7 separate regions of the Homo sapiens genome follow, and all the other regions are linked to region 1. The links are contacts of gene promoters, found by promoter capture Hi-C in blood cells and fetal thymus (Javierre and others, 2016). All regions are on one chromosome and are shown on one strand. The core of a region is centred on a gene start or on the middle of the fragment in contact, and the rest is flanking DNA. Distances in the headings are between cores, read along the strand shown. Region 1 holds the start of UFM1 (ubiquitin fold modifier 1). Region 2 overlaps ESD (esterase D). Region 3 holds the start of LRCH1 (leucine rich repeats and calponin homology domain containing 1). Region 4 holds the start of ZC3H13 (zinc finger CCCH-type containing 13). Region 5 has its middle 13 kb from the start of HSPH1. Region 6 overlaps B3GLCT (beta 3-glucosyltransferase). Region 7 holds the start of TPT1 (tumor protein, translationally-controlled 1).

What was found. The method cuts DNA at HindIII sites, captures the fragments that hold promoters and counts their contacts. A CHiCAGO score of 5 or more calls a contact.
Region 2: a fragment that was not itself captured here is called in contact with the fragment with the promoter of UFM1 in region 1 in 1 of 17 cell types (total CD8 T cells); the score reaches 8.3 in total CD8 T cells.
Region 3: a contact is called between the fragment with the promoter of LRCH1 here and the fragment with the promoter of UFM1 in region 1, in 1 of 17 cell types (non-activated CD4 T cells). The highest score is 5.5, in non-activated CD4 T cells.
Region 4: a contact is called between the fragment with the promoter of ZC3H13 here and the fragment with the promoter of UFM1 in region 1, in 1 of 17 cell types (non-activated CD4 T cells). The highest score is 5.4, in non-activated CD4 T cells.
Region 5: a fragment that was not itself captured here is called in contact with the fragment with the promoter of UFM1 in region 1 in 1 of 17 cell types (total CD4 T cells); the score reaches 5.1 in total CD4 T cells.
Region 6: a fragment that was not itself captured here is called in contact with the fragment with the promoter of UFM1 in region 1 in 1 of 17 cell types (non-activated CD4 T cells); the score reaches 6.8 in non-activated CD4 T cells.
Region 7: a contact is called between the fragment with the promoter of TPT1 here and the fragment with the promoter of UFM1 in region 1, in 1 of 17 cell types (total CD8 T cells). The highest score is 5.8, in total CD8 T cells.

Annotation. Positions count from the first base shown.
Region 1 is chr13:38,348,499-38,351,212 of GRCh38, forward strand. It overlaps UFM1 (ubiquitin fold modifier 1), which reads left to right and starts at 1,353. Exons shown (of 6, transcript NM_016617.4): 1 at 1,353-1,423; 2 at 1,501-1,557. The coding sequence starts at 1,422. RefSeq lists silencers at 883-992, 1,690-1,904 and an enhancer at 1,103-1,312. The HindIII fragment of the contact is 2,541 bases long and covers 931-2,714 here.
Region 2 is chr13:46,792,643-46,795,356 of GRCh38, forward strand. It overlaps ESD (esterase D), which reads right to left. Exons shown (of 10, transcript NM_001984.2): 2 at 755-802. Among named protein-coding and RNA genes, the nearest start is that of ESD, 3.2 kb to the right of the region's middle. The HindIII fragment of the contact is 765 bases long and covers 1,021-1,785 here.
Region 3 is chr13:46,551,782-46,554,495 of GRCh38, forward strand. It overlaps LRCH1 (leucine rich repeats and calponin homology domain containing 1), which reads left to right and starts at 1,389. Exons shown (of 20, transcript NM_001164211.2): 1 at 1,389-1,922. The coding sequence starts at 1,616. RefSeq lists silencers at 1,333-1,522, 1,583-1,642 and enhancers at 1,846-2,546, 2,203-2,522. The HindIII fragment of the contact is 3,547 bases long and covers 234-2,714 here.
Region 4 is chr13:46,051,378-46,054,091 of GRCh38, forward strand. ZC3H13 (zinc finger CCCH-type containing 13) reads right to left here and starts at 1,369. Exons shown (of 19, transcript NM_001330564.2): 1 at 1,027-1,369. CPB2 (carboxypeptidase B2) reads right to left here. Exons shown (of 11, transcript NM_001872.5): 11 at 1,809-2,421. The coding sequence ends at 2,237. It overlaps CPB2-AS1 (CPB2 antisense RNA 1), which reads left to right and starts at 1,471. Exons shown (of 3, transcript NR_046227.1): 1 at 1,471-1,588. RefSeq lists enhancers at 553-1,089, 1,090-1,625, 1,155-1,324, 1,335-1,534. The HindIII fragment of the contact is 2,282 bases long and covers 3-2,284 here.
Region 5 is chr13:31,173,510-31,176,223 of GRCh38, forward strand. No RefSeq gene overlaps it. Among named protein-coding and RNA genes, the nearest start is that of HSPH1, 13 kb to the left of the region's middle. The HindIII fragment of the contact is 3,215 bases long and covers 1-2,714 here.
Region 6 is chr13:31,202,387-31,205,100 of GRCh38, forward strand. All of the region lies in intron 1 of B3GLCT (beta 3-glucosyltransferase), which reads left to right. Among named protein-coding and RNA genes, the nearest start is that of B3GLCT, 3.8 kb to the left of the region's middle. The HindIII fragment of the contact is 1,394 bases long and covers 619-2,012 here.
Region 7 is chr13:45,339,840-45,342,553 of GRCh38, forward strand. It overlaps TPT1 (tumor protein, translationally-controlled 1), which reads right to left and starts at 1,344. Exons shown (of 6, transcript NM_003295.4): 1 at 1,203-1,344; 2 at 873-946; 3 at 155-345. The coding sequence starts at 1,230. It overlaps TPT1-AS1 (TPT1 antisense RNA 1), which reads left to right and starts at 1,506. Exons shown (of 11, transcript NR_024458.1): 1 at 1,506-1,548. It overlaps LOC124903169 (a long non-coding RNA gene), which reads left to right and starts at 1,595. Exons shown (of 2, transcript XR_007063781.1): 1 at 1,595-1,791. RefSeq lists an enhancer at 414-1,203 and silencers at 1,101-1,170, 1,251-1,360, 1,521-1,720. The HindIII fragment of the contact is 2,255 bases long and covers 1-2,093 here.

The DNA.
Region 1 (2,714 bases), core at 103-2,602:
TAAGGCTGTAACTGTTGATCCCTGTATCTGTCAATCAATATTTGGCTTCATCTACATATATGGTAAGACCATTATTTTAAAAAGTGAGGATGGCTGTCATGAGAATGTTGGAGTCTTACTTGCCTACTCAGAACCAGAACTCTCTCCACTGGGAAATGTCACCATAGAAGATCAGTTGGCTGCAAAATTATTGTAAAGATGAATTTGATCTCCATTATCCCTACTACAGTTCCTTCCTGGTTCCTCTCTTAAGTATCTCTCCTTAAGAATCTGATGCATATTCTAAAGATCAACTAGATTGCCCCATTATTTTAATGCCTACCTGCTTCCTCCTTTGTCTATTCATGCTAATGTTTTAAAAGGGCATTTCAGTCATTGTGAGACAGACGCATATTTTCCAAACACAGAGGTTTAGATCTGTAATAAAGTTTAGAGGACAATTTTCTTCCGTCATCACTACACAGGATGTTAGATCCTAGAGAGTTGACGCCTACCTGCCTTACTCATCTTGGATTCCCCAGAGTTTAGCTTAGCGCCGGGCAAATAGAAAGGGTTCAAAGTTGGTTGTTAAATTGAATAAATGTGGTCAGTGATTAGCAACTCAGCGCACTGGTTTAATTAGACCATATAACAAATTACTGAAATCTCCTGTTCATAGATGTGTCTTCCCAACTAGACGCCACGTTCCCCAAACGTAGAAACCTCATTTTTTCTCACCCACCCCAGCGGGAGTCTTGGCATAGATAATTCGTACTTGATAGCTCTCTTACTTAACCGAAATTCAATAGTTATAAATCAGTATCGGAAAGTAAAGCGTGAAGGAGAAACTATGAGAAATGTAAAGGATATAACAGGATTGGTTTGCTGGAAAGACGGAAGAAAACTAATGATAAAGCAGTGTTACAATTCCTGCTTCTGGAGCACCAATTAAGCTTTTCCGCGCTCAGGTTGCCTTAGAAACTTTAGAGCGCGTCCGCCCCAGCCCCGCCCCCGGCCTCGCCCCGAGCTTCGCCCCAAGTCCATCTCGCTCTTCATCCGACTACCCCATACCCTTACTTCCGCCCCAACCTGCCAACTGGAACCTAGGGTCCTACGCTCTATGCCCACGCTTATTCTGCCTGACTAAAAATATGGTAGCAAATTACCAAAGTTAGAAAGATATCTTATAAATATAATCCATACTTTTTTCTTAGATATATAAACGCAAAAGCACAAGATATTTGTAATTTAAAAGCGCCATCTAGCATGAGCTCTTAGGGCCAATTTTCAGGCAGTGCGTTGGATAGCAACAACTTCGGAGGTCCCCAGATTGCAGAGGGAGACGTGGACGTGAGTGGAGCGGGGCGGTCCCCAGCACACTAGAGGAAGTCGTGCTACCCCCGCGGAGTTGTCGTGTGTTCTGGATTCATTCCGGCACCACCATGTAAGTGTTTGCTTACCGACTGCCATAATTCCTGGTCCAGCTGCCCGACCCTGACTCTCTCCCGCTCTTTTCCTCAGGTCGAAGGTTTCCTTTAAGATCACGCTGACGTCGGACCCACGGCTGCCGTACAAAGTGTGAGTAGCTCGGCCGAGATGGGCCTTTTGGGGCCGGACAAGACGGGGCTGGGTTGGGGATGATCCGAGCTTTTCCAACAACTACCCCACGCAGTCTTCATCTCTTCACTTCATCTACTTTCCTGGCTCGCGCCCTTCCAGGAGCCTTTCCCACCGGAGCCTGCGAGGAGAGGTCCGTACTTGCTCGCTAAGTGTCAGCTTGGCAGCTTGGCCCCGTCACGAGGGTGTGGGTGTGTTTCTGATTAGTGACCTCCCCTCGGAATTCATTTGGTGGGCAGGTGGCGCGGGAGGACAGGTGGACCAGGTTCTGGTAATTTGTTGGGATTCTTAAACAGTCCCCATCTGCTGGATATTAGAAAAGCGTTTCACCGCTTTGGCCAGCTGGTTGAGGAAGTTAAGGAAGACATTCCATCTTGATAGTCAAGACTTTGAAATTACTTGAACATTTGTTATTCCGCGGCTTCTGAGTTTCGTTGTGTATGAGTAACTCAGCAGTCGGGCATCACAAAGTAATGAGACTCAGATCACACCCTTCCTATGCTGGGATTTAATAGAGTATTTGGTAGGAATGGGAAATGCAGATAGGGGATAGTTTATCCATGTGGGGCCTTTACTTATCCTTCGCAGTTGAGTGATAGATTTTAAGTAAACACTCTTGAGGTTATTGCAGTTGGAAGTAGCATGAAATGTAGCAAAGAACAGGATTACAATAGAATTTTTTGCATAATTAATTAGTACCTTGGCCTACCTAGCTGACTGATAAATTTCAATGATTTACCAATCCATGATCCGTACAACCTCTCAGCCTTTTCCTCCCTTGATCTTTTCATCTCCAAAATATCCCTGTTACACTTTATCTCAGGTGTTCATGGTTGCAGCCTAGAACCTTAAGATTCCAATAATTGCTCCATCTCTGAGATGTCGTTTACAGGCACTCTTATGGATAAATACATTCTCTCCTACATGATTTACTATAATTTCTCATCTACAACGTTTCATTTAATCCATTAATCACAGTGATTTTTTATCTGTAGCTATCCCCACTTCTATTCCTTACCTTACTCCTTATATAGTTAAGAGTCCATTGGTCCACCTTTAAATCATTCTCATGCAAACACCCTCAACTCTGGTGGCCCTGTCTCTCCTCTCAGCATATT
Region 2 (2,714 bases), core at 153-2,652, 8.4 Mb after region 1:
ATTATGATATTACAACTGTACACAAAGAAATTACCATCTGCTCAGTTTTATGCTTTTAATCTATAAAAGATTAATTCTTAAACAATAAACTCCCATGAGATGTTATTAGTTACTGAATATTAACTTTAGCTACTGTTAACAATCCTATCTTAAATAATGAACTTATAGAGAGAGATACTAATTTTAATATATTAATACATATATATGAGACCAACAAATAAAATTTATTTGCTCCATTATTCCACAAGGAAACCAGATTTTCTTAAACTTAGAAAGGACTATATCCACTTTGCAAAAGATGGTACACTGAGCACGTATCTGGTACATAGGAGTCTGTATCTTTGCTATTCGTCTATTTTAATAAACCTCAAGTTGTCAGTTTTCTCTGCTCTTAAAATTCAAAATCAAATGCTTTTCATTTGGCCAGAAGAAACAAGATTAAAACACTTTTTAAAAGTTGGTAGAATATTTTTTAAAAAACAAAGCTTTTAAAGTATTTTTTCTACCCACCATTTTAGAAACTATCTTTAATTACAAATCAAAAAAATATGTTAGGCTTAACAAGAAATATGACATAAACTAAGAACTAGATATGACATACTGTGATATACTATGATATCTGATACATTATAATAGGTGGTTATATTTTTCAATAGAATTTTTCTATGTGAAAAATAGCACGTTTTAAAACAAGCTATTAGTGGTATTTTCATTCAATGTTCAGAGTAACATATAAACAATAAAACAAGTTTACCTGTCCAATTGCTGATTGCTTTTTGCTTGCACCAAATGGTAGGCGATTCTGAAAAAAACACCAATGGTTTACAAATGGGATATACTTTTCACAGCAAAGGTTATACAGAGCTTTTATATGCATATGCATTCTCAATAGAGATGTTTTCTTCTTTTGAGGTAAATGACTGTACACCCTGATGGGATACCACATCACCACTTAATTACCTTAATTGCCCATAATCTAATTATTTGCCACAGGCCACCTTAATACCTATTTTGCCATAAAGCTTGTTGGTACTTGGTCAAAACCATCTGCTGAAGTAAAAGTACTATGAAAGTTTTTTATCTTTTTAAATCAATAAACAAAGTTTTCAAGTGTAATTTCGAAGCATGAGATGTAGTCAACTCCTGAGTGAAGAAAATAAGAGTGGGGACTAGGTAAGTAGAGGAAGATGGATCTATCTGGCTCAGTTGTAAGTCGAACTTGTAACATGGGGAGAAAGAAGGGAAGAGATGAGGACTGAAGGACTACTACTAGGGTGACTAGAAAGGATGTATAAGAAAAGTGGGCTTATGAACGATGAAGTGACTGATATTCAGTAAGAAAAATATATATGGAAACTTACATAGTATATATCATGTCACTTATCTGGTAGATTTCATTTAGGCTCTAGAACAAATATATATTTAGGTTCTAGAACAGATTTTGTGGGAGAAATAGGGTGACAGAGTAGGGTGGAATACCAAAAAACCAAACAACACCCTTCCTCCTTCCCCTCCAAAAAACAACAACAACAACAACAACAACAAAAACAGAAAAACAATTTCACAGTGCCAGTGGGAGTTACACAATTTTTCCCAAATGTTAGTGAACATCAACATTCTTTGGAGAAGAAAGGGTCTCTCAGTGCATAATACATCCATTCCCCTAAAGGTCAAACCTTACTGTTCTTCCCTTTATTTTTTATTTTTTGGAGATGGGGTCTTGGCTGTGTGGCCCAGGTTGTAGTACAGTTGCATAATCATGACTCAGTGTAACCTAGAACTCCAAGCTTCAAGTGTTCTCCTACCTCAGCCTCCTGAGCAGCTAGGACTACAGGTGCGTACCACACTGGAATATTTTTTTTTTTAATTTTTTGTAGAGACAGGGCCCTTTACTTATTAAAGTTAAATGTCATCCACCTCCAGAAATCTGAGTTCTATTTTTATCCTTCTTCCCCTGTGTCTCAAGTTTTCCATAAATCTCTACATGTGTTTTTTTGTTCCCATTCTCTCAGATTCCTTGGATTTTGATGTTTCTTCATTTCCAGGATGTCCTATTCCACTGGCTCTTAACAACCTAGACAGGTGTTCCCAAAACCAACAATCTACAGTTCCAATAACTGCTGTTGACCACCACTGTGTTGTTCAAATCCTCTTCTCAGTGAAAACTCAGGATCTGGCTTCTTCCCTTTCACTCTGTCTCCTCCCACCTCCCTTTTCTTTTTTCTTCACACTCTTTCCCTAAACCTCATTCCCTAAATTTCAACTACATTTTCTGGGTGAAATAATCTAAATCTGCATCTCTATAACCAATCTTTCTCAAGCATTAGTACCCATAATGACATTTCTTGCTGGACTCTTCTACCAAGACATGTCACCAGCTATTAAAACTTACCACACCTAAAATTAAGCTTCTGCATCTCACCTTCAAACCATTCCTCTTTTCATTGCCTCTCTTTTTCAGACTCATGCCTGTCTTGCCTAATCTACATTTGAGATGCCTCAAAGTTACCTTCTTTTTGAATTCCCACTGCCATCATCCTAATTATATATAAGAAATTAAAACTTAGCCTCTTCCTTTCTTCCTAATACATCCCACTACGATCAATCCTGCATGAAAGCCTAGGGTTTTAATCCACTTAATTTACTGGTCAACGGATCCCTACCAACAGCTCATCTGCAGCCTAATACGGCCTACGTGGAATTGTTAGTCATTT
Region 3 (2,714 bases), core at 139-2,638, 8.2 Mb after region 1:
TGCCGAGTCCATGAAGTCACCAGTTCCAGCCTGTTGTCTAGGCCATCAAACTTATGTATTACCACTTAAAAAACCAGCTCCCCTACTCCAAGGGTTGCATTACTTTCGTGCTTGACACCCCGACAACCCCGCACCCACCCCCCGACTCATTTTCCCCAAGCCAAGTCGCTCATAGGGGACAATCAAGCCTTAAGAATAGAGCAAAAATAAAGGCCCTGGAAAGTTGGACATGAAGCTTTAACTTCAGGAAAGGAATGGTATTCTATTAATCGTCCAGCTGGTCTGCCCTTAGGGTGTCAGATGTTCTCTGTCGCCCCTGGTGTGCCAGCATTGGCCTGGGTGCCACTGGGTGGCTGATGGCAGAATGTGAATTCACTTGCAAGCGGACATGTTCGTTTCCATGCCCCAAAGCGGGAAGAAGAAGGGCACAAGGAGACTTCGATGGTTCTTTCAGCTCAGACTCGAGCTGTGACTGATTTGCTGTTTGGGGTCACTGGCTTTCTAGCCTCTCCTGGCACCACCCAATTTCGGGGAGCAGCCAGCTCATCTTTCTCCTACGACAATGTCTTCTGTCCCCCATAAACACTGCCCTCATTTTGAGTTTTTCTTTCCTATGTCTGTAGCTTTCTTCTGCCGCTCAGCAAACACTCTGTCCCACTCGTATTCGTCCCTTGGCGCTGGCGTCTGGCCCAGGGGTACACTGTGAAGGAGGGCAACCCTAGATTCTGAGGGCCCTAGCTCGAATCTAGCGCCCCTCTAACTGCAGGGGTGACCTTAGATACATTTATTAACTTCCTCTGTAGACTCAGGGGAACAACTTTGGCACTCCTGGGGTCCCTGGATTAATGAGGTAACTTACGTAGACTCCCTAAACAAGCGTCTGGTTCATTGTAAGCGCCCAAATGCCAGGGGGCATCTGCAGGGATGACCCCATAGTGAATGAAAACTGCCTCTTGGGGATCTCTGGGTTAAACGGCCAGAATAAATCGCAGAATTGAGAGAACCCTCTCCTGCCCCAAACCTCACTGTACTGTAAATCCCATTCATTGCCTCCCGCCGTTTTATCCGTGTTCTCAGACCACCCCCCTATCCCCGCAACCTCCAGTCCCCTAAAGCCTCCTGGGCGGCAAAAGGACGCCCAGAGAGAGGTTCGGCGCCTCAGTTGCCCCGGAGCAGACGTCCAGCCCCGCCGTGTACCCGATTGCGGGGCGGATCGCGGCAAGGCGGCGGCGGCCGGCAGAATAGGCGCGGAGGAAGGCTCAGGCGGGGCAGACTGCGTGGGGGAAGGAGGAGGAGAGAGCAGACGGCGGAGGAGGGCAGAGCAGCCGGGGGGAGGGCGCAGGGGCGGGAGGAGACACATGCGCGCTGCCGCCGCCGCCGCCGCCGCCGCAGTCCTTAGCTTCCCGGGGACAGGAAACCTTCAAGACCGAGCTGCCACGGCCGCCTCCCCGCCCGCCCCCCATTCTACGCGCCTGCCCACACCCTCCTCCCCTCCTTCCAGCGCCTTTCGGTGGAGCACTGCGGCACTCAGCCCGAGCTGCCGTTTTCCCCTCGCGGGGAACGCTGTGACCCCCCCGCAGGAGCGGCGGGGCGGGGTGGGGGGGCCCGGGAGAAGATGGCGACGCCGGGAAGCGAACCCCAACCTTTCGTCCCGGCCCTTTCGGTAGCTACTCTGCACCCACTTCATCATCCCCACCACCACCACCACCACCATCAGCACCACGGAGGAACCGGCGCCCCCGGCGGGGCGGGTGGTGGCGGCGGTGGCAGCGGGGGCTTCAACCTGCCCTTGAACCGGGGTCTGGAGCGCGCGCTTGAGGAGGCGGCCAACTCCGGGGGGCTGAACCTGAGCGCCAGGAAATTGAAGGAATTTCCCCGTACCGCAGCCCCCGGGCACGACCTCTCGGACACGGTGCAGGCAGGTGAGTGAGGGCCGAGGGGCGGGCAGGGGTGTGGGTGCTGTCTGGGTGTCTGTCGTGCGTTCCCTAACGCGGTGGACAGTCGGAGATCTTGTCTTGCTGGGGGAGGGAGGGTCCATCGGCCCGTTGTCTCCCGAAGAAGGGACTCGCGTGGGCGCGGAAGAAGCGGGCCCTGGAGAGGGCACGGGGGCCCTGCCTGGTCCGGCGATGCAGTGCCAGGAGGGCAGGGGTGCGCCGGGCCTCTGCGCCTGAGAGCGAGGGGTCTCCGGCTCTCCACCCTGTGGCTGCCGCGCCAGGGAAGTAACCGCGGGGCTGGGACTTGCAGGCGCGCCGCGTGCGCGCAGTGTAAGTGGGAGGTTTCAGGCGGCTGTGTCGGCTTCCTGGGCCCCGCGCAGGGCTGGGAACTCCAGCGCGGACAGCGGCGTCGGCGCCTCCAACCAGTTCAAGCCGTCTTTGCATCGAGGCGTAGCCCATCCTGGTGGGGAAACCCAGACAAAGGTGGCACGCCCTCGGCCGAGCCAGGGGCATCGGCGCAGTGCCGCGAGCCCCCTCGGCGACATCGCCGAGCGATCGGGCAACTCGGTGCCGCCTGTGAGGTGCCCAAGTTTCCTCTCCCTGCGCTTGTGCGGGAAAAGAGCCGCCGGGCTTGTAGTGAATCCCAGTCGGCTGCCGCTTCGGAAGCGATCGGCCCTCTTCCTTCCGTGCCTTTTGCTCACCGCCCACACAGTTTGGGTCCTACCACCGAGGCTACCTGGTTCTCAGTTACCCAACCGTTGCGGGGGCCCCAGGAAAGGA
Region 4 (2,714 bases), core at 119-2,618, 7.7 Mb after region 1:
CAAGCTTGCATCAACTTTGCTAGTCTCTAGTTGAAACTGTCATCTGTTATAATCTAAATAGTTCATTAAGAAAATAAAAATTATTTGAAAATCTATAGATTGTATTCACAAAACGCTCCAATATATTGTACTAAAGCCAGTAATTTCAAATGTTACAGAACTAGACCCCGCTAACTGGCACCATATACCCATAGACTGAACTGCATAAGTATTTATTCTCCAACGGTATCGCGGACTTCGAAAACTTGAGGTGTAAAGATGTTTTCCAAATTTTTAAAACTACTTTAAAAATCCAAAAATCTTAAGAGACTTCATACTCCCATAATTTTCAAAGTAGTTCGAATTACCTGAAAGCCCCATAGTATAACCAAATACCTTAAGACTACCCTTCACAAACAACATCTTACCAACATAATTCAAGTATTATCAACTCTAAATAATTTTCAAACCACATAAATTGCGTTAGCCTATTACAGAGAGATAATGCCGCCAAACAGACTCTCTTCTTTCTATTCCACTTTCCCCCGTTTCTGACAGTTGCCAAAACTACCTACCTAAGGCTTGTGAAGATAAAGTAGCACTCAATTCCCAGGACCTAAATCGTTATCACTGCTGAGGGAAAAAAAAAAAAACAAGACCAATCACAAGTAAGATGTTTTTCTCTAACAGATCTGGAATGAGTATAGAGGAAGATTCTAAATTTAAGCCCAAATTGCTGCACCCTTCCATCGCACACAAATACGAACACCATACAAGGGTTCCCGTGCTTACATCAAATGGTAACGAGGGGTACAGCCTATTGTCTGAGTCTACTTATCGCCCTTAGACAAATGCCAGAATCATAATCAGAGTGAGAAATTACGCCTGAGCACAGGGGGCTATTGCAGAGTTAAGGGTGGGATGCTCAAGGAAAGCTCAAAATCCCAGTGACTCAAGCAAAGACGGGGGGGGGTAACCCGGGCCTCCGCATTACGGGTCCGCTCAATGCCTTCCCCAGATACCCACACCAATTCACAGAACGCTTACTTCCTCCCCAAGCTCCCTTCGCAAGTGCAGTCCGGAGGCACCACCGCCGCCGCCGCTCCGAGGAGCGGGGGAGGCGACTCTGTCCCCGCGCCTGGACCCAGGAGGACGACGACGAGGAGAAAGCGATGCGCGCGCGGCTCCCGGGAACCGGCTCTTGGCTAGCGAGGAGCCCCCGGGATGGCTGAGAAGCAGAACCAACCCGCCCGCCGCCTCTCCAGGGTCAAGCGAAACTGGGTCGCAGGAAGAAAAATAACGAAGAGATTGTAGATTAAGAAAAGGCAACAAAAACACTACCAGGCCGCTAGGAGGACCGCCTCAAAATGCCGCCGGAAGTCAGAGGTTTGCCCTGTTCCTCTGTAGACCCAGGCAGCTTCCGGCCGTCAGATTAGTCGTCAGTGCGCAGACACCACCCTTCGTGGACACGCCCTCTAGGCGTAAGGTTCCATGCGAGCGGTAAGAGTGCGGCGGGACTTGGAAATCGAATCTGTGCTCTGTGAGAGATCCTAGGAAAGGAAACTGGGAGCCCGGGAGAACTAAAATTCCCAATTAAAAGTGAATTTAAGTGAGTTTTCTCTTTTTATTACATAATTCCTTACCATAAACAGCTGTTGTAAATGCGCAAAATGCGGCATTTGTTGACAGTACCTAGAGCCACTCATTCATTCGTTCAACAGTGTTTATTGAGCAGCTGAGCTGGAATGAGAGGCTATGTTTGTCGTTTTTGACACCCCTCCCCTTTCTGGGCCATCGCCTAATTACCGTGGAGCAAACGGAATGCATGGTTGTATTTCTAAAGGCACAAGCAGAAATTTATTGAAAATTTGGAGCAGAAATCTTTAATGTACTTCTGACCACCCTTCCTTTTGTTGAGTAGGATCCAATGATCAGCGTGAGATGATCATTGATTAAACTTGCTTGAGATGGCTAGTCAAACGTCGAAACTTGCTTGAGATGGCTAGTCAAACGTCGAAAATCAAAGAAAAAGTAGGTAACTAGACTTTTACAATTTTTTTTAAAGGGTAAAAAGACATGAACCCTAGTCTGCCTTAATGGCAAAGTAGCACTTATTAGGTTCTCTGACAGAACCAAGGAATAGGAAAATCTTTTATCAAAACTACGGATAAAACTTAAAAATAATTTGATACAATGATTTGGTCTTGCTGGAATCAGTAAATTAAAATACGGAAGCAGAATGATAAAATCAGGGGCATTAAACATTCCTAATGACATGCCAAGCTATTTTAGAGACAGCGGCAAAAGCTTCTCTACAGGTGGGTTTGATGTAACGCTCCGGCAGCAAGAATCCGTATGTGCCCGTATCTCGAAGTTCAATTGTAAACGAATATTTGATGCCCAAATCATAGATCCAATCGTCCCCACCTCCAGGAGCTAGGTCTAAAAGAAGAAGAAAGAAATTGTTGAAATACAGACGTTTCAAATTAATTTACAAACTGGGAATTGTTTGATTTAAATGTTTATTTGTTTGTATACCTTTAGATTTTTTTCAGTTTTTAACTAATATAAACAACTTTACAATGAGTACCCTTGTTTATACATAATTGCTTCTTTGTCTCTTTAGAATATTCTTCCCTAGAATAGATTTGCTAGTCTAAGGCTCTGTACTTTTTGCAATTACGGCATGTTCCCAAATGGACGTCAAAAGAACTGAATTCATTTATACTTCCACA
Region 5 (2,714 bases), core at 102-2,601, 7.2 Mb before region 1:
AGCGATTCTGAAGTACAAGGCTCAAAATAAGGAATGAGCAACAATGATGTAATAGGTGAGCCCAGCTCAGAAAGGCACATACTAAAGACGTGTTTCCAGGTAGTCTCTGAGTACTAAAAGATTGGTAAGTGTTCCAGGGACCTTTTTGCAGTAGCAATGGCTCCCCAGGATATTCATCATGACAAAATAAAACGAATATGGCCACACCTTCATGTTCTTAAATAGATTCTTACATCATGAAAACACCTATCGACTTGTAATTTTTTTCTAACTAGTCAGTTCTTCCTCAGACAGAATAATCTGGATGAGCCTAATTCCTCTGGCTAGGACTTTTAAAATCATGTTGGCACTGGGGCTTGTTCCTATAGCTGGTTGGTACAACCTTCTAATAATACCAAGATGGTGTTTTGTGTCGCTGACTGCTCCTAGAAGAGGGTGACCCACTGCCCCCCAACTTGGGCCACTCACTGTACCACTGACTCAAACCCAATTCAATGGCCACCCCAAGCAGGACCAGGGATGAGATTTGACCGACTGCAGACCCAGAACCACCACAGCTAGAAAAGCAGTATAACCATGAAAAAGAAATTTCTGCCAAAACATCTGTGGGCTAAGATTACACACAAGTATGTTTGAGACTAGGGGAGTCGAAACATAAATAAACTGTAGAAAGGAGCATGCTAGTGCAGAGAGTGGGACTCCTAGAAATGTGAATTTATTCTCTTTGCCACCCAGGGGAGCCAGAGACTCATGAAAATCTTACACAAGCTGTCAAAGTTACGAACCAGGGCAGGGAAAAACAGTATATTAGTTTGGATTTTTGCAGTTGCAGGCAACAACAACAAAAAAATCAGCCAACCAACAAAACAAAAATGGGAATTTACTGATCCACATAATTTGGAAGTTTTAGGGGGCATCTAGTTTAGGCTCAGCCATATCCAGGAGCTCAAGTGACATCCTCAGGACTTTCTCTCTGCCCATCTCTCAGCTAAACTCTGCTCTGCGTTGCTTCCCTTCTCAGATGGGCCTTCCTTATGTAGGGGCAAAGGCAGACCTTGCAGCTCCAGAGTAACATAGTTCTTACCGTAAGAAAGTCACAAAGAGACTGGGCATGGTGGCTCATGCCTGTAATCCCAGCACTTTGGGAGGCCGAGGTGGCAGATCACTTGAGGTCAGGAGTTCAAGACCAGCCTGGCCAACATGGTGAAACCCCATCTGCTAAAAACACAAAAATTAGCTGGGCATGGTGGTGCATGCCTGTAATCCGAGCTACTTGGGAGGCTGAGGCAGAAGAATCACTTGAACCTGGGAGGTGGAGGTTGCAGTGAGCCAAGATTGTGCCACTGCACTTCAGCCTGGGCTACAGAGGGAGACTATGTCTCAAAAAAAAAAAAAAAGTAGAAGAAGGGAAGAGAAGAGCCAGTGAGTGTGACCTGGTACCTGAAGTCACTGTGCAGAGCTATCTGCCCAAGCTACTGGTGAGGATGATGGAGAATCAAACCACCAGGCCCCCAGCATTACTGCAGAATGGGCAGGGATGGTGCCTCACAGACATGCCAGGCAGGCAGAAAAAATAACGCCCATGACAGCTGGCGAGAAGGGATTTTCACTTACTGAGCACCTCAGCACAGTGCTGGGTGCCATGAATGTCTTACATCACCTCCCAAGGTTCCTCTTAGATAGGTACCTTCTATTATCATCCCCATTCTGCAAATGAAAGTAAGGCTCAGTTGGATTAAATAACTTCCCTGAGGACAACCAGTAAATGGTAGGGCCGGGTATTAATGACCAAAACCCTTGCTTGATCAAACGGGGAGGAAAAGTGAAGGGGAAGGGGCACTGTCCTCAGCAGACTGGGAGCCACAGAGGTGGTGGGTGGGGACGCAGGCAATGTGAGAAAACAGGACAAAGTGCTTTAAATAATTTCTTATTTAAAGCAGAGCCTAAGCCACAAAATCTCTGACAAGTAAGCCCTGGTGAATGGGGCACAATTTTTGTTCTATTAGGAGAGCAAGTTAGCTGGGCGCGATGGCTCACGCCTGTAATCCCAGCACTTTGGGAGGCCAAGGTGGGCGGATCACGAGATCAGGAGATCGAAACCATCCTGGCTAACATGGTGAAACTCCATCTCTACTAAAAATACAAAAAAAAAAAAAAAAAGCCAGGTGTGGTGGTGGGCGCCTGTGGTCCCAGCTGCTTGGGAGGCTGAGGCAGGAGAATGGCGCGAACCCAGGAGGCAGAGCTTGCACTGAGCCGAGATCGTGCCACTGCACTCCAGCCTGGGCGACAGAGTGAGACTCCTTGTCAAAAAAAAAAAAAAAAAGGTATGGAGATGGGATGGGGTGAGGCTTCAGGATTCTGGGTGGGACAGTCCTCACGTCTGATCTCACACAGAGCAGATCACTAACCTGCCTCTGGTAAAGTGGCCCTGGAGGGGTCTGAAAGCAGCCTTAGGTGGTGAGTCCAGCCCTAAGAGGCTCTCCTATCCCGTGGGGCCTTCAGCCTTCAGTTGCTCAATCTCCCTGGTAATTGAGACCAAGCTGCTAAATATTGTCAGAGGGCTGCGCTGAGACCAGCAGAGGGTGAGCAGCCCACAGAAATGAATCTGGAGGCCAGTTGGGGCAGAGAAGGTGACTGACTGGATGAAATGAGGATTAACTGCATGTAGAGTGTGTTTGACTTTAAACTGTGAACTACAGGTCTCTGGAAAGTGT
Region 6 (2,714 bases), core at 66-2,565, 7.1 Mb before region 1:
TTGAGCTTCAGTTTTCTCATATGAACAGGGCGAATGGACTGGATAGAATACTAGCACTTTGCCACCTCTTACAGTTTTAACATACTGATCCCGTTGTAGCAGAGATTGACAGCCACCTGCGAAGTAACCCTTTAGCCCTTGTTTTCCTAACAAAACTAATATAATCTGGGTTGGGGGGAAGGATGGTGGGGTGGTGGTGGCAGCGGTGGCAGCAGCACTGTGAGACATTTCTCAGTGGCCTTTGCATATAGGGGCAGCTAGTGCTCTACAGAGATATCTTTAGAGATTGTTTGGTGGGGCTCCTGGTAAAGCTCATTCAAGGTGGCTGACTCAGCTGGGATGCAGGCCTTTTTGCTCTGTGTTATCCTCCTTCCCATTGCCTATTAAGTGGATCTGAGGGATGGAGCCATGGTGGCCATCTTGTGACCATGAGGTGACCTTGAAGATGGAAGCCAGTAGTAAGGATGGTAGAAGAGAAAGATAGAAGAAGCCTGGATGCCAGATGGATGTGGAGCATCATGTCAGCTCTGCATTTCCTGTTTGCAGACTTGTATTGCATGAGATTATATGCAGCCAAACCTAATCCTATTGCCAAACCTAATCCTAATTGATAGAAGAAGCTTATTCGAACCAATGATATTGATAAAATAATAGGTATTAGCTTTTATTTTTCACATGCCTGTCTGTCACTTCCCTGTGTGAGCCAACTTTGTATTTCTTAGCACCTGCCAAAATTGGGGATGGTTTTTCATTCTGAGCCAGGTCTTGCCCAGATTCCTTTCATTGCAATGAGTCAGAAATTTTAGGACACCAAGAGTCAGACCTAATTCCAGGTTGTTTTGTGTTTTTTGATTCTTAAAACCTTCTCTTTATTTCTTAAGCAGTATGCAGATATTACTGGCACAGATTTTAATCTTCTGGATGGATTCTTTGTCATCCAGGTAGTCCAGGACCTCCGAGTTGGCATGGCTCCCCAGGTCATGGACTTGACCCAGGGGAGTTTGCCAGTAGCCAACAGCTAAGCCAGTGGGAGGGAGGGAGAGCATCTGTTTCAAATAGCAGTGTGAATTCGAAGGAGGTGCTTTGACCCCTTTGGTAACTTCCTGCGGGACAAACATTGTGGGCTCGGTATTTGAGCACTTCCTTATAATTGGCTCTTTTGGAGCCAGGTTTTTTTGGTGTGTTTTACTAGACTCATTATGAAGCAAGCAAGCAAGCATAATTTTTAGGCATAAAGGTACTACTTAGAGAAAATTTGCAAATGTTCTGTTTTTCCTCTTGTAGCATTATGTGTGATCCATCTTTGGCTTTGCACAGATTACTTCTTAAGAACAATATATGGGAGTCCCCATAGGTTAATCTCATCTTTTCCATGATAAAGGAAAAGTTGTGAGTTTCAAGGGTTCATCAGACCTATTGAGGAAGTTCTTCCTTACTACCATGATTTCAAAGTTCTAGTCACTAAGCAACTCCCAAAGAAACCTGATTTAACGTAGGCGTTGACTTGAACTACTAGAAGAATGTCAATTTAAAAATAGTGTTAAAAAGAAAAACTGCCCAAAGCCTCTCATTTATTCAGAGTAATGTGGGTACCTACTGTGTGTCAGGCATCGTGATATTGCAGGAACAAGACAGATCTAGTCTGTCTCTACCCTTGGGGAGCTTGCAGCCCGAAAGGCAAGGTGATGTTAAGCAGTAATGACTACAGAATGAATCGTGTCTGTGCCAAATGCTGTGGAAGAGATGTTCAGGATGCTGTGAGAACATGCTGCAGGGAGATAGATGGCTTTTGCCTAGACTGGGGAGATGGATCTCAACAGGGAGCCATCTTGCACCCCAGGGAACGTTTGTTGCTGTCTGGATACTTTTTGGTTATCCCAGGGGCTGGTTTGGCAGAGGGTGCTACTGACATCTAGAGTCAGGGGTGCTGCTGAACATCCTACAAAGGCACAGGACAGTTCCACCCCACCATCGAACAATTAATTATCGGATCCAAAATGCCAACAGTGGCAAGCTTGAGAAACTGTGGGGTAAGGGTCAAGGAAGGCTTCCTAGAGGATGTGACGTTAGAGCTCAGACCCGAAAGGGAAGCAGAAATCAGGTAAGTGGGTGGCAGAGCTTGGTGGTGAAGGAGCCAAGTGGAGAAAGGACGGAGGACTGAAGGGCTGGCAAGATCATTAGGGGCCAGGTTGGGTAGGGCCTTGCAGATCAGGGGACATATTTTGGGGTCATCCTTAGAGCAGAGGGAAGTGTTTGAAGGGCTGTAGTGGGGCAGTATGTGATATGGCTGCCGTTTCCTGAAACTCACTCTGGCTGTCTGATGGAGCAGGAGTTGGAGGGGGCCATTGTGGATATAGGGAACTGTGAGGAGGCTGCTGGACACAGGTTGTGAGAGATGATTAATAATCTCTCAGACTCTGGGACTGATTAGGTTCAGTGTGCTGGGAGAAAGGGTGGGGGAAAGGATGAGTCATACATTTCTGTCACATCCACCATGGGTAGTAGTGCTGTTTACTAACTTGGGCACTGAAGGAGGAGGACCAGGTTTTTAAAAACAGTTTTATGTGGTTCAATGTACATAACATACAGTTTATTAAGTATAATGAATTTTAAGTGTATAGTTCTATGGCATTAAGTACTTACACAATTTTTTGAAATGTACTTTGACTTTTAATTTTAGGGGGAGGTGAAGCTGAGTAAGTTCAGTTTTGGAC
Region 7 (2,714 bases), core at 94-2,593, 7.0 Mb after region 1:
ATAGAAAAGCAACCACTCTTTTCCGTGAACTCATTAATAAAAAAGCAAGGACTTTCACAAAAGTATACCCACTGCGAAAGAACCTCAAAAGTTAGCCAATCTTTAAATCCTGTAAGATTCTAGACATCAGCTAGGTACTGCCAGTATCACTTACGATTTCATGTAATCTTTGATGTACTTCTTGTAGGCTTCTTTTGTGAAACTTGTTTCCTGCAGGTGATGGTTCATGACAATATCGACACCAGTGATTACTGTGCTTTCGGTACCTTCGCCCTCGGGGCCTTCAGCGGAGGCATTTCCACCAATGAGCGAGTCATCAATGTTACCTTCTGTCCTACTGACCATCTGCATTAAGAAAAAGCAGTATAATTGCAAAAGACACAAACGCATCCAAAGCACCTTCCACGCCAATAGTTCACGGATAAGAAGTATTCTTAGTTCTTGCTGAAAATAAAAAAAGCACCATTTTGGGAATAAAGTTGTGACCCGTGGATTTCTCAAAACGACCTAACTTAAAAGAGTTGTCTGTTGGCCGGAACAAAAAATGGGGTCATTAAAAAGTTGTTTCCAGTTGCGGGCATGTGATGCCTCCGGTTGGTAAGTGGGGACAGGACAAACACGAAAGGACTCCAGGCTCCTAAGCCGGAAGCATCATGTCCCGGACAACCCCGGGAGGAGGATGGGCGCCGAGGCGGCGGGCCTATTTCCAGGATCAGCTCCGCCTCCAGTTTTCTAGAAAAACCCAAGCCCGGAAAGAGCGTCTCCTCCGCCAGGAGGCGGCGGGGAGGATTGCACAACCTCAGGCGGGGGAGCGGAGGAAACCCGAGCCCGCTCGGCCCGGACTCCCCCACGCGCAGGCCCGACCGACTCACCTTCCCCTCCACCTCCAGGCACAACCCGTCCGCGATCTCCCGGATCTTGTAGATGTCGGAGAACATCTCATCGTCTGCCGGATACACAGAGCCGCCCATCACCGTGCGCCTGGCGCCGCCATTTCCCGCATTTCCCGCGCCGGCGGCCGCACGCGGGATCTGCCCCTCCGTAGCACACCAGAGCTGGGCGCGAGCCCCGGGCACCGACCCCTCCGCGCTCGGCTAAGACCGCCGGCGTCCCCTAGGCCCGCGACGGCTGCGCCTTCCCCGCCCCCACCCGCACCCCAGACCCCCGTGTGCGGCAGTAAGGATAGTGCAGTGAGGACTCACGGCTGATGAGGTCCCGGTAGATAATCATGATGGCGACTGAAGGGAGACGACGACGGCGCTAGCTTAGCACGAGCCTGAAACTCGGAGCGAGCGCGGTGCAGCCGGAGCGGCGCTCGGGGGGAGGGGGGAGCGGGCGGAAAAGGCCGACTCAGCCGCTCCCCAACCTCATATAGAGGGCACGTCCCTCTACGTCATCGCCCGCTGCGCCTCCGGAAGCGACGCAGGCGGTGACGTGGCACGAAGAGCCGCGCGGGGGCGGGGCCACAGCGGGGGCGAGTCGGGGAGGTGAGCATCCGGGGACTTGAGGCGGAGACACAAGGCTCCGTTCCACTGGGCACGCCAGCGGGTAGGGGTGGGGGCGGGGAGGTGCGCGCGCAGCGTGGGAGGAGGCCAACTCTCGGGGCGCTCCCTAGCCCTGGGTGGGTGGAGCGGGGGAAGCGGAGTACGTTGGACCCGGCTCCGCCCTACCCCACGGGGCCGCCTGGAGAGGTGCTGGGAGCTGGGTGGAGCTTAGAGGAATTAAACTTTGGCCCTGCGCCTCGTCCAGCCTAGGTTCCACCCTTTTCTGGGAACGTGAGTATCAACCAAGGTAGGAGAACGTCGCATTTAGGGAGGGTCAGGCCCTCTGGCCTGGGGTAGATCTCGGGACTGCCCGAGGGCCTCTGACAACTTTTCAGCATCTGCCCCAGGGCTGCCCCAGCTGGAGTTTTTGGGACGCTTTTGTGGGGGCACCGCTGAGTCCGGATAGTGGGACCCAAGTCGTCCTGCTCGGCCCCTGGGGAATAATCGTGTGGGGCGCAAGGTCTGTGGGAAGGGACTTGGAGAGGAGGGAAGATGTCACGGGAGTCTGCACAGGGTTTCCATGTGTTCCAATTTTGTCCCATAATTGAAAGCTTGTGGCATTCTGTGGCGGACGGCTACGGAGCTAGCTCTTCCCTTTACTATTTCGCACTTGGTCTTGGAAAAGTATGTTGTCGCTTTAAGATGAAGTTGAAATTTTATCCCTGGTGCTAGAGGGTCACACAAAGGGAGTTTCCCACCTGCCCCACCTGTTTTTTGAAGGACTTTACACCCAATTACTAAGTATTAAAACAAAACAGGTCCTGCATGGTAGCTCATGCCTGTAATCCCAGAACTTTGGGAGGCAACTACTGAAACCCTGTCTCTACACACACACACACACACACAAATTAAAAATTAATTGGGTGCGGTGGTGCCTGCCTGTAATCCCAGCTATTAGGGAGGCTGAGCTGGGAGGATCGCTTGAGCCCGGGAGTTGGAGGTTACACTGAGCTATGATTGCACCACTGCGCTCCAGCCTGAATGACAGAGCAAGACCTTGGCTCAATAGCAAAACAAAACTTCCGTATTTAGTCACATCGTCACATCTTTGGCATAAGGCAAAGATACATGCCAGTATGAAGTCTGAAAGCTTGTTCTATTTCGCAAATATTTTGTGCTTTGTATCCCTTAGAACTAGGATTTGCACCAAGATTCCAATTGTGAACAAGT